Regions from separate parts of the Homo sapiens genome. Here regions 1 and 2 are each linked to region 3. Evidence: promoter capture Hi-C in 16 types of primary human blood cells and fetal thymus (Javierre and others, 2016). All regions are on one chromosome and are shown on one strand. The core of a region is centred on a gene start or on the middle of the fragment in contact, and the rest is flanking DNA. Distances in the headings are between cores, read along the strand shown. Region 1 overlaps EVC2 (EvC ciliary complex subunit 2). Region 2 overlaps EVC2 (EvC ciliary complex subunit 2). Region 3 holds the start of STK32B (serine/threonine kinase 32B).

Region 1 (3,939 bases), core at 1,000-3,499, 630 kb after region 3:
ACCCGCCAGGAGCTCACAGACCACCAGAAGACTGGTTACCAGTGCACCCGACAGCCTCACTAAACTGAACACTCACCTAACGCCAGCCTTGTACTTTCTCTTCGTCTCTTCTGTGCAGGACTCTGGCTCTCTGGGAGGCGGTGTGGTCCAGTGCCTGACAGCAGGGCTCTGGAGCCAAACTGCTTGGGTTCAAATCCTGGTCCTGCCACTTACTAGCCATGCAGAAAAGAGTTAACATCTCCAGCCAGAGACTGGCATCCTCTGAAAGCCCTTCCTGTAGGGCTGGGCCTCAGCTGATGTCTGGGAACATGGATTTTGGGAGGGTTTCCACTATTTTCTGGTAAGAGTGGCTCTCTGTTTTCAAACTGTCTGTACAAACAGTGTGGCTTATGCTGAGCACCTCCTTTCCTTCTGGGAGTCTGGAATCTTGGTATATGCCAGGCAGAGAGTGCCTACGTGGCCAGCCCCCAGTGAAAATTCTGGCACTGAGTCTCTAAGGAGCCTCCCTGGTAGATAATACTTCACATGTGTTAGCACAACTCATGCTGGGGAGATGAAGCATCCCCTCTGTGACTGCTGGGAGAGGACTCTTAAAACTTGCAAGTGATTTTCTCCAAACTTCTCCTCATGCAACTTTTCCCTGGGCTGATTTTGCTTTGTATCTTTTCATTGTAGTAAGTCATAGCAGTGGGTACAACTACAGGCATGCATCACCTAACAAGGAAGAGATGTTCCTAGAAATGCATTGTTAGGCAAATTCCTAATTGTGCAAACACCACAGAGTGACTTACACCAACCTAGATGATCTAGCCTACTACACACCTAAGCTCTACGGTATAGTCTATTCCTCCTGGCTACAAACCTGTACAGCATGTTACTGTACTGAATACTGTAGGTAACTGTAACACGTACTAAGTATTTGTATATATAAACAGATCCAAGTATGGAAAAGGTACCAAAGCCTGTAATCCCAGCACTTTGGGAGGCCGAGGTGGCCGGATCACTTGAGGTCAGGAGTTCAAGACCAGCCTGGCCAATGTGGTAAAACCCCGTCTCTACTAAAAATATAAAAACTAGCTGGCTGTGGTGGTGGGTGCCTGTAATCCCAGCTACTTGGGAGGCTGAGGCAGGAGAATCGCTTGAATCTGGGAGGCAGAGGTTGCAGTGAGCTGAGAACGTACCACTGCACTCCAGCCTGGGCGACAAAGCAAGACTCTAAGAAAAAAAAGAAAGAAAGAAAAGAAAAATATGTACAAAAGACAAAAAAAAAAATACACTCGTATAGGAAATGTATCATAACTCGAGCTTGCAGGTCTGGAAGTTGCTCTGGGCCAGTCAGTGAGTGAGTGGTGAGTGAATGTGAAGGCGTAGGGTATGACTGTACACGACTATAGACTTTAGAAACACTGTACCCTTAGGCTACACTACATTTATTTATTTATGTTGAGACAGAGTCTCACTCTGTTAACCAGGCTGGAGTGCAGTGGCATGATCTCGGCTCACTGCAACCTCCGCCTCCCAGGTTCAAGCAATTCGCATGTCTCAGTCTCCCGAGTAGCTGGAATCACAGACACGCACCACCATGCTCAGCTAATTTTTTTTGTATTTTTAGTAAAGACCGGTTTAGCCATGTTGGCCAGGCTGATCTTGAACTCCTGGCTTCAAGTGATCAGCCCACCTCAGCCTCCCAAAGTACTGAGATTACAGGCATGAGCCACTATGCCTGGCCACTAAATTTATTTTAAAAATATATGCTGTGCAGGTTTCTTCAGTAATAAGTTAATCTTGGCTTACTGTAATTTTTTATTTTTTATTTTATTTTATTTTACTTTAAGTTCTGGGATACATATGCAGAACGTGCAGGTTTGTTACATAGGTATACATGTGTCATGGTGGTTTGCTGCACCTATCAACCTGTCATCTAGGTTTTAAGCCCCACATGTAATTGCCCTTGCCCCCCATCCCCCGACAGGTCCCAGTGTGTGATGTTCCCCTCCCTGTGACTTTATTACCTTTGTAATTTTTTTTTTAACATTTTGACTCTTTGGTAATAACACAGCTTAAAACACAAACACACTGTACAGCTATACAAAAATAGTTCCTTTCTTTATATCCTTACTCTGTAAGCTTTCTATATTTTTAAGGTATTTTTTTAAAACACTTCTTAAACTTTTTGTTAAAAACTAAGACACACATTAGCCTAGTCCTGCACAGCATCAGGATCATCAATATCACTGCCTTCCACCCCGACACTCTGTCCCACTGGAAGGTCTTCAGAGGCAATAACAGGCATGGACCTGTCATCTCCTAGGATAACAATGCCTTATTCTAGAATCCCTCCTGACGGACCTGCCTGAGGCTGATTTATAGGTAAGCTTATTTCGGATTTGATCAGTGGAAGGGATACACTCTAAAATAACAATAAAAAGTATGTATAGTAAATACGTAAACCAGCAACATAGTCTTTTAGTGTCATTATCAAGTATTATGTTTTGTACATAATGGTATGTGCTAGACTTGTTATGATTGGCAGCACAGTAGGTTTCACACCAGAATCACCAAACAGGTGAGTAAACGCACCATGCTACGATGGATATTACACAACCACATTATCACTAGGTGACAGGAATTTTTCAGCTGCATTGTAATCCTGCGGGACCACCTTCATATATGCAGTCCACTGTTCACCAAAATGTCATTATGTGGCGCGTGACTGTATATGTAAGTCCCGTGAGTCACCCTAGAGAATCACCGAACCCGGGGGTGGGTGTTGGGGACCCTGACATTCTAGCCATGGGATACTGGGCAAATCACTTGACTTTAATGTGCCTCGGTTTCCCCATCTGAAATGGCAGAGATTTTAAAATAGAATCTGTCTCACAAGACTGTGGTAAAGATGACATAATTCCACATAAGTAAATTGCTTAGAATGCTTGGCACCCAGTTTTAAGAAACGTGAAGTGTTGTTACCTGGTGAATTAACACTTGGTGAATACATGAGTGAGTGAACATGTGAGCTGCAAATGATTAAACTGAAGAACAGAAATGGAGAAGTATTATGGTGAAGAGCAGAAGCAGAGAGACCCGCCCCACAGACTGCAGGCTTTGGGAAGATCTGGGAAAACACAATGTCACCAGCAGCTTGACCTAGTGGCAAACACTGGGGATAGGTAGGAGCGTGACTGGACAGTAGCACAGACGGGCTGTGGAGCCTCAGCCTGTCCAGCCCACGGCCTACCTGCCTTGTCCAGGTGGAGGGTCATCCAGGGAAACCAGTCAGATAGCCTCAGGGCACACGGGGGACCCGAGAGACTGCACAGAGTCCCAGTCTCAACGCATAACTGGGGGACCAAGGCCAGCAGCTGGCCGCTCCCCATGGCTCCAAGGACAGGCAGGACCCACACAGCACAGGTGTGTCCTGAGGGTGCTCAGGGCATGTCATGTCTCTTACCGTTACGTTTTCTTCTGCTGTTATGGAAAAAAGCACTTTCAGCTGTGTTCTGTTCTAGAAAAGGAAAAAAGAAAACACTTTCAGCAACAGTTTGGGGTCTGACACGTGGGATAACATTTGGTGCGATTTCCAACCCTCCAAGCCTGGAGCTACAATCAGCCCTAACTGCTGCACAGGTCAGAGCTTGTGAAGGTCTCACCATCAGGAGGAAGGGGCTTTGGGGATAGGATCCCTCCCTCTCTACTGGAGGCCGTGTGAAATCCAAACACCAGCTTCGCTAACATCCAGAGAAAGTCATGGCAGCATGCCCTTGTGGAGAAACGCTTGGGGTTGGGCACTGACTCCAAGCCTGTGACCAAGGCAGGTCACCTCCACTCTCCCAGCGTCTGCCTCCTTCACAGAGGTAGATGGAATCCTGGGCTCTGACTGCACTGCACGTGTTCTTCTCTCACTCAAACGCACTTGATTCTCCAAGCCCCAACCCGCTG
Region 2 (4,010 bases), core at 206-2,705, 610 kb after region 3:
TTTAGTGGGAAGTGTATCACAGATTTCCATGCATACTAAGCTCCTGCCATTCTGAGTGACATTTTCTTTCTGGGAGCATCTAAGCAGGACCACAGAGCAAGATGGAAAGATTAAAAGTAATTGGCAATGCTATAATTGAAAAAAAAAAAAAAAAGACTGGGTTCTTAAAACTAGTGTCCAACCACAATGCCTGAAACTGAATTGGAGTTCAATAAATATTGAATGTTGGGACGGGAGGGAGGATGGGAGGCTGGGGGAGAGGAAGAGAGGAATGAATTTAGCTCACAAGCTGAACACTCTCCGTGCATGCTTGATAATCAATGCTAAACACTCTTCAGGCAAAATAAGACAAGCTCCCAAGAGAAATGAATATATAATTCCAGAGGTGCAAGAACAAAATCATTATAAACTTCAACATTCCTATTGTACTCAAGCATCAGGACTGGCAAACTGCAGCAGCTGCTTATAATTTCATATAATGTAGGGATAAAGAAAGACTCGGCTTCTTATGCCCCATCACTTTTTGAATAAAAAACAAAAACAGGAGGATTAATACTTTCCTCTTTTAAAGTACTAATTACTTTAGTCAGAAGGTTATAGAGTACCACATACTTGCAAATTAAATATCCGGGTGCTGATTGCATGATCCAAATCATTTCACTCTACTTTTCATTTTCATGTTTTGTAAGAAAACAGACTTTTAGCTCTGAAATCATTTGATAATTAGCTGCTCACATCACTTAATATAATAAGTGACATTTATGAACCTCTGCCAATAACTTCGTCTCCCATTGCTCGTCCATTTCTCCCTACTACTTCAGACAAGGTGGCAAATTTTAATTTGTAATCCTTGCCATTCTGATTAGGGAGTTAAGTGAAAATGAAGAATGGCATCTGGATGGCTGCACAAGGCTTAATTAACCAAGCCACACAACTCTGGCACCCAGAAATGGATTAACAAGCCCTGACTCCCCTCTTGGTGCAAGGTCAGCCCTGCACTTACGAGGCTCCAAGCCTGGCTCTTCACCAGGCACTCTGTGAGGAAGGAGCACCCATTCAAAACAGAGGAGAGTCCCTTTCTTCTGAGAACAGTCATTGAGCTCACAAAGTGGCATGAGTCAGACCTAGCAGAGCTCTTCTCTCAGGCCAGTTAAGTAGTTGCTCCTGAAAAGGATGAGCCAGAGCTGTTTCTGGTTCTACCTAGGATCTACCTCTTTGTGTCACAGGACACCACTTCCTGGACCCAGGGAGATAGGATCAGGAAGCTGCTCAGTTTTGCTTCCCAGATCTCCCATTTTCAGTATGCTTTCAATTCTCTTGAGAAAGACTCAAGGAAGGGCTACTCGCCCTGACCACTTCTCTTTATGGTCTGCTAATCTGACCAGGGCTCACAGGCAGCTATCACCATAAGGATGCATCCCCATCACAAGTCTCTTTCACATCATTACACATGACAGTATCAAAAGGCTCTAGGTTACGGGTTCCCCATTTGAGAGATGAGAAAACTAGGCTCAGAGAATGTCTGTAAAATATAAATGTGCCTGAGCCTAAATAGTGAGGAAGCTCAAGTCCCATTCTTCACTCACCAGATGTATCACTGTGGGTAAACCTCTCAGCCTAGCTGAGCCTCAGCTGCTTCAACTATCAAACACTGAAAATAAGATGCCATACCAAAAAGCAGTACCAAATTAAATAAGGGGCGTGACATGAGCACCAAATTAAATAAGGGGTGTGCACATTTCTAAATGTGACATAAACATAAGGTATTTTATCTGAAAACATAAGGCATTACAGTTTATTGTCATCTTGATGATTCCAAATTCACACAAATTACCCTCCAGTGGGTAGTGAGTGGGCAGAAAGCCACACATCTTTAATCTAGAATAAAAAAAGTTTCCTGTAAATGGAATCCAATTTGAAGGGTTCACATTTGGCCCCATTATTAATCATCAGCAGTCTACCAAGAAAGCAAAGAATGTTAAAATAAAAATCATCAGATATAACCAAATAAGAATTTGATCTGGGAGAAATGAAGCCCAGCTTTGAATGATCTCAATCTCTGACTGGATTAATATAATCCATAATTATGTTGCTAGCCACTTAGAAGAAGATAACATCACCCTCGTCCTCAGATTGTCTTCTCAACTTCCTATACAATGTCTAGCACATAATCAAAAATACACAGAGATATGAGACAAGAAAATATGATCAAAAACTGAGTGGTACTCTAGATAACAGACACAGAACGAGGGTACAGATAATAACGTCTTCAGTCAGACACTTCAAAATAATTTTGTTTGAGAGTAAATAAAAAAATAAGATTGAGATTTTTGGCCAAAACAACGGAAAATTAAAGAAAACATAAAGAAGTCATCTTAAATATCTGATGAAAGGAAAGAAGGAACGACAAGGCCATGCTGATGAACCTCATCTAGTTAAGGTTATCTATTAGACTGTGACCCATGTGTCCATCCAGGAGAAATCTTGGGCAATGATTAAAAGCCTGGACCATGGAGCAGATGACCTGAGTTTAAAACCTGACCCTATCATTTACTAGTATATGCCCTTGGGCAAGTTACTTAACCTCTCTCCAGTTCTCATCCATAAGATGTTACAGAGAGCAATACCTACTTCATGGGCTTGTTAAGAGGATTATACGAGTTAGTTCTGTGAAGTTCTTAAACAGTGTCTGGCACTATCTGCTATTGCACATAGGGAGGATGATGTTAATATTCATTAACTACATAAGAAGAACTGAATTCAGTTCAGTACACACTCACATCACCTGGTCTGGCCTCTCTCCCCTGCTGCCTCTTCTTTATTTTCTATACTCAATACCCCAATCTGCACATCAGCCACACTTGGCTACTGACATCTCACCAAACGCACCTTGCTCCTTTCACGTCCTTACATCTGCCCTTTCTTTCCTCTGTCTGAAAATCGTTTCCACGCTTAATCAACTTGGAAAGCTTCTTCATAAGCTTTCAGAATCAATTCAGATTCTCTCCCTCTTAACTAATGAGTACTAGACTTAATACCTGGATGATGAAATAATCTGTACAACAAACCCCCTGTGACACGAGTTTACCTATATAACAAACCTACACGCATATCCCTAAACTTAAAAGTTAAAAATAAATAAAAAAATTGTTATTAGTTCAATAGTTTATTGAATAAACTAATTATTCAATAATTATTATTAATATAATATTAAATATAATATTAATATTAAATATATTAAATATAATATTAATATTAAATATATTAAATATAATATTAATATTAAATATATTAAATATAATATATATTTATATTAATCATATTTATTTTAATTATATTTAAATATATTTAGATTAATTATATTAAAATATAATATATTAATTATATTTATATTGATATTAAATATAAATATAATATTAAATATAATTATTAAAATAATAATTATTCAATAATTATCCAATAATTATTGAAATAATTAGTTCAATGCCACCTCCTCCAGGAAGCATTTCTGTGACTTTCTCAGAAGTAATTACTTCCTCTTCTGTGCTCTGCCGGCCCTGACCTTCCCATTTGCATGGTGGTCACCCAATTCTGTGGTCACTTCTGTTTATGTTTCAGTCTTTCCTACTAGATCAGACTTCCTTAGAGCAGGAAGTATGTCATCTACACCTCTTTTCCTAGATGCCAAACATTCAGTGCATAGCAGTTGTTGAATTATGACTACAGAGTGACAAATGATTAACTGAATGAATGAAATATACTCAGCATTTGGCCTTATGTCACTGTCGTTAAAACATTCATCACATGTGTGTAAGTATAATGGGATTTAGAATTCTTACTCTTCTAAGGCTTGAAGCATGCTCCCAGGGTCCTCGGAAGACAGAATGTCTATCATTTGGTCGTTAAGGGAAAGGTCCTCATTCACGCCATCAGCTGAGGTGAACGGCAAGGGTTCCAGCTTGCTCTCATACTGCCAAACCTTCAGGAGAATTGCGGAAATAATAATTGAT
Region 3 (3,865 bases), core at 403-2,902:
CCACCCGCCTCAGCCTCCCAAAGTGCTGGGATTACAGGTGTGAGCCCCCACGCCCGGCCTAGCACAATATCAATATATTCCTCATAACAATGTTAGAAAGGGAAAGTTCTCTTATTAGCACCTTCTGGACTCAGATGAAGAAACTGAGTCCAGAACAGGTTAAGTAATTTATCCAAGTTAACTGGCTAATGAGGGGCAAAGCAGAATGAAACCTGGGTAGAATGAGCCCAGAGCCCATGCCTGTCCACATTCCGCCCTATGCTTCTTGAGCTAGGGGCCAGCTCTGTGTTCAGGGCATTGCCTGCTGCACACTGGCTACTCAGTGTATGCTTGTTGGTGGAATGAAAGGCAAGAAATATTTATTCATCATTTATTATATGCCGGGCACTGTTGCCTGCTTTTATAAATATTACCTGATATAATTCTCACAGACAACCCAAGGAGTTAATATCAATCAGCCCACTTTGCAGATAAGAACTCCAAAGTGGGACACATTGCCAGTAAATGGTAGAGCCAGCTCTGGGTCATGGTGGGTGGGCCTGCCTCAGACCTTCTCAGTTCTTTCCCACTGCCTTTAAGAGATTTTTTGTTTTGTTTTGTTTTGTTTTGTTTCTGTATGAGTCTCCCCGGCTTCCCTCACCCTTCTCCCAAGAAAAAGAAAGAAGGGGAGAGAACTGGAGAGAGAGACCAGGTAGGGGACGGGGACTGGGGGACGAGATAGGATGGAGAGAGTCACAAAGAACCCCTGCTTTCTATCAAAGCACGGACAGTGGTTCCAGGCGCCCAGCAGATGGCAGGATGTAGCCAAAGATTCCCTGCAGTCCCGGAGAGCTGGGCCCGCAGGACTGCAAGGCAGGGGGACCTGCCTGTCCCTCAGGGAGCGTCCTGGGAACCCGCGCTCGCCCCACACGTCTTGGGGCGCATCTGCCGCACCCCTTACTTAGGCACCCGCAACTGTGGCGCGTATCTCCCGATCCAGGCTCCCGCCGCAGGAGCCCAGGGACCCTCATGCTAGCCTCGCCCCTAAATCGGACGCCGATGCCGCCCAATTTTGGGGGAATCCCGAGACTCATGCCCAGCCATTCCCAGGGAGAATGGTTTGGGGCAAACTATGGCTGTCTGGGGCCTCAGTTTCCCCATGTACAATGAAGGGGTCAGATTAGTATCTAATCTTAAGGGGTCAGAAAGTAAACAGATACTTTCATTCATTAAACACTGAGAAAAACCTTAAGAGGAACAGCGTCGGTTGGAGAGCCAGCAGACACTCCACTGCCCATCCCAATATGAATGGGCAAATACAGGCTAGCGGGGAGTCCTGGGACTCCCTTCGCAGCCGGGGCCGACTAACCACAGACCTAAGAGCCCCTCTACCTCTAGACCTCCGTCTACTGCGCTCTAAAATATGAACGATGCTTTCTTACTGCTGGGTTGTCGGAGGCGGATGTGGGATGGTGCTAACAAAGCGCGTAGCCGAGGCCTGGCCATAGTGGGTGCTGACAAACCGCTTACTGCCTGCAGGGACCGAGCTCCCGGCCGAGGGAGGAGGGCCGAGCAGGGATTCAGATTCTTCCGGGCCGATCCCTTTCTCAGCTCCTTCCGCCCTGCCGCCGCCCACTGCGTGCTGCCTTCGTCCGTCCCCTCCTCCCCCGCTCCTTCCCCTCCTTCCCCTGCTCCCGCGCCGCCTCGCGTCTCCCGCCCGCTGTAGCCGGCGAGGAGCGCCGCACGTTGGCCCCGGCGCGAGGAGCTCCCGGGTTCCCGGGCGGGCACTGGAGTAAGGAGCTGCGAGCGCAGCCCGAGGCGGGGCACGGCGGAAGGCGCGGCGAGAGCGGGGTCCCTGCGAGCGCAGTCGGAAGGGCGTCCAGGAGAAGGGGGACGCCGTCCCCGCCCCTGCACGGTGCTCGGCCCCCTCGGGCTCCGCGCGCGGCTACAACCCGGACTGGGCGCGCCCCCGGCATCCCGCATCTCTGCGCGCGTCCCACATCCCGCATCCGGCATCCCAGCGGCCGGGCATGTAGCAGCGGCAGCAACGGCGGAATATGGGCGGGAACCACTCCCACAAGCCCCCCGTGTTTGACGAGAATGAGGAAGGTAAGAGAGCGAGAGGTGCGAATTCCCGCTTCGCGGGGCATCCCCTTCCTCCACCACCCTCGGCCGAGCCCTGCGGGGCACCGCATGCTGCCCGGCGCGGGGACCCAGGCATGGCCACTTCGCCCAGCGAATGCAGTGTGTGCCCGACCCGTGCCAGGCGCGGCGCTTCTGCTGAGGCAACTCCTAGGTACCCAGTGCCGTTTAGTAGTCGGGACGGTGCCTAGCGCGGGACTGGGGAGGCGGCTTCAGAGAGTTGAACCCGAAACCTGCACTTGGGGGTGTGGAAGGGAGGAGTTGACTTCGGAGGCCAGTCGGGATGGTTCTAGGCTCGGGCTCCCCAGGAAACCGAGGTTTCCTTGAGAGCCTGAGGCTGACGGAGGTGGCCTGGAAGGGCGGGTTGCACCGTGTGTCTGTGTGTGTGTGCGCGTGCCCACGACGCATTTGGTCTCGTGCAAGGGCCTGTTGGATGCAGCTCTCCTCAATCACCCAGGACAGAGGGAAACTTTTCTTTGCTAAACTCTGTGGTTCCTAGGAGGGCGTCCTGTTCTGGGCAGCCTCCCCCTGGCGCAGAAGTGGTGTAGGCTGTCCAACCGCATCTCAACTTCCTGGCTGGATCCTTGCGGTTCAGGTCGATAGAGCTCCCTATTTGGACTAGCAGAACCCTCTTTCCAGTGCAGCGTGTCCCTGGAAAACTTACTTCACCTCTCTGAAACATTAGTCCCTTCATCAATGAAATGTGAGTTATGATACCACTAGCTACTTTATAGGGTTGTTTGAAGCTTAACCACTAGTAATCCACGTGAAAAGTGCCTTATAAATGCAAGCAGTACCGAGCTGTGCCGTTTTTTATGTTAAGAGCCCTCTGCCTCTCAAAGCTGGTTTCCTACTGTGCTGACTCGCCAGTCTCCACTGTGCCCCAGGTAAGAGCTGAGACATACTGAGCACTTACTATGTTCCAGCCATGCTAGCACATAGTGTTCACTCCATCCTTTTCATGCCCCTTGAGGTGGCTACCTTAGAAAGGGGTCTGTCCTGGTTACTGCTGGTAAGAAGTAGAGCTGGGCTTGAGGCAGGACAGTCTGCTTTGAAAGCTGTGCCTGTCATCATTACCCAGGGCACTGGCTGTGTGCGTACATCATGGATGGCTTCTAGAACTCCCAAGGCTGTGAGTGCTACTCAGATGCCTGCCTGGACAGCCCTTCTCAAAAAGATAGATGAACACAGTCAAGGTTAAGTGAGCACCTGCTGTGTCAGGCCCACGAGAGCCTTCCTTAAAGGAGTTCCTAGTCTAATGGCCCTGAATGACCGTCCATGGTGATAAGGGCATTGAGAAACCAGTGCAGGGTCTTGGGGGCACAGAGAGGCCCCAGCTTTTCCTGATCTTTAGTCTGGAGCATGTGCAGGTGAGCAGGTAAGGAGCCAGTTGTGGACAGAGGAGAGGTGGGCACAGAGGTAATGGAGGCTCTTGCATGTCCCAGTAAGAGTTTGAACACTATGCAGCATCACCCTCAATTGCACGGGCTTGTGGTTCTAGCCTGGGTCAAAGGTCATGCTTTTGCTAATTTTCCTAGCATCTTTCTCTTTTATTTACAGAGGAAATTTGCCACCCTTATATTGAAAACCGTCTCTGTCATTTATCCCCAGCTTGAAAATATTCATTGGCAAAATAGTTATCTCTGGTGTAGCCAACCTTTTGATTTTCCTGTTCCTGTTCCTTATTCTATAAGCAGATTGGGCCTAAGGTTAACTGCCTGTTTCGGTGCTTGTTAAAATACAA

Evidence for each region. The method cuts DNA at HindIII sites, captures the fragments that hold promoters and counts their contacts. A CHiCAGO score of 5 or more calls a contact.
Region 1: a fragment that was not itself captured here is called in contact with the fragment with the promoter of STK32B in region 3 in 1 of 17 cell types (M1 macrophages); the score reaches 5.6 in M1 macrophages.
Region 2: a fragment that was not itself captured here is called in contact with the fragment with the promoter of STK32B in region 3 in 1 of 17 cell types (M2 macrophages); the score reaches 5.2 in M2 macrophages.

What each region holds. Positions count from the first base shown.
Region 1 is chr4:5,677,809-5,681,747 of GRCh38, forward strand. It overlaps EVC2 (EvC ciliary complex subunit 2), which reads right to left. Exons shown (of 22, transcript NM_147127.5): 7 at 3,452-3,505. Among named protein-coding and RNA genes, the nearest start is that of EVC2, 29 kb to the right of the region's middle. The HindIII fragment of the contact is 248 bases long and covers 2,126-2,373 here.
Region 2 is chr4:5,659,268-5,663,277 of GRCh38, forward strand. EVC2 (EvC ciliary complex subunit 2) reads right to left here. Exons shown (of 22, transcript NM_147127.5): 9 at 3,840-3,979. Among named protein-coding and RNA genes, the nearest start is that of EVC2, 47 kb to the right of the region's middle. The HindIII fragment of the contact is 3,023 bases long and covers 1-2,967 here.
Region 3 is chr4:5,049,828-5,053,692 of GRCh38, forward strand. STK32B (serine/threonine kinase 32B) reads left to right here and starts at 1,653. Exons shown (of 12, transcript NM_018401.3): 1 at 1,653-2,088. The coding sequence starts at 2,037. RefSeq lists an enhancer at 2,355-2,893. The HindIII fragment of the contact is 3,285 bases long and covers 1-2,865 here.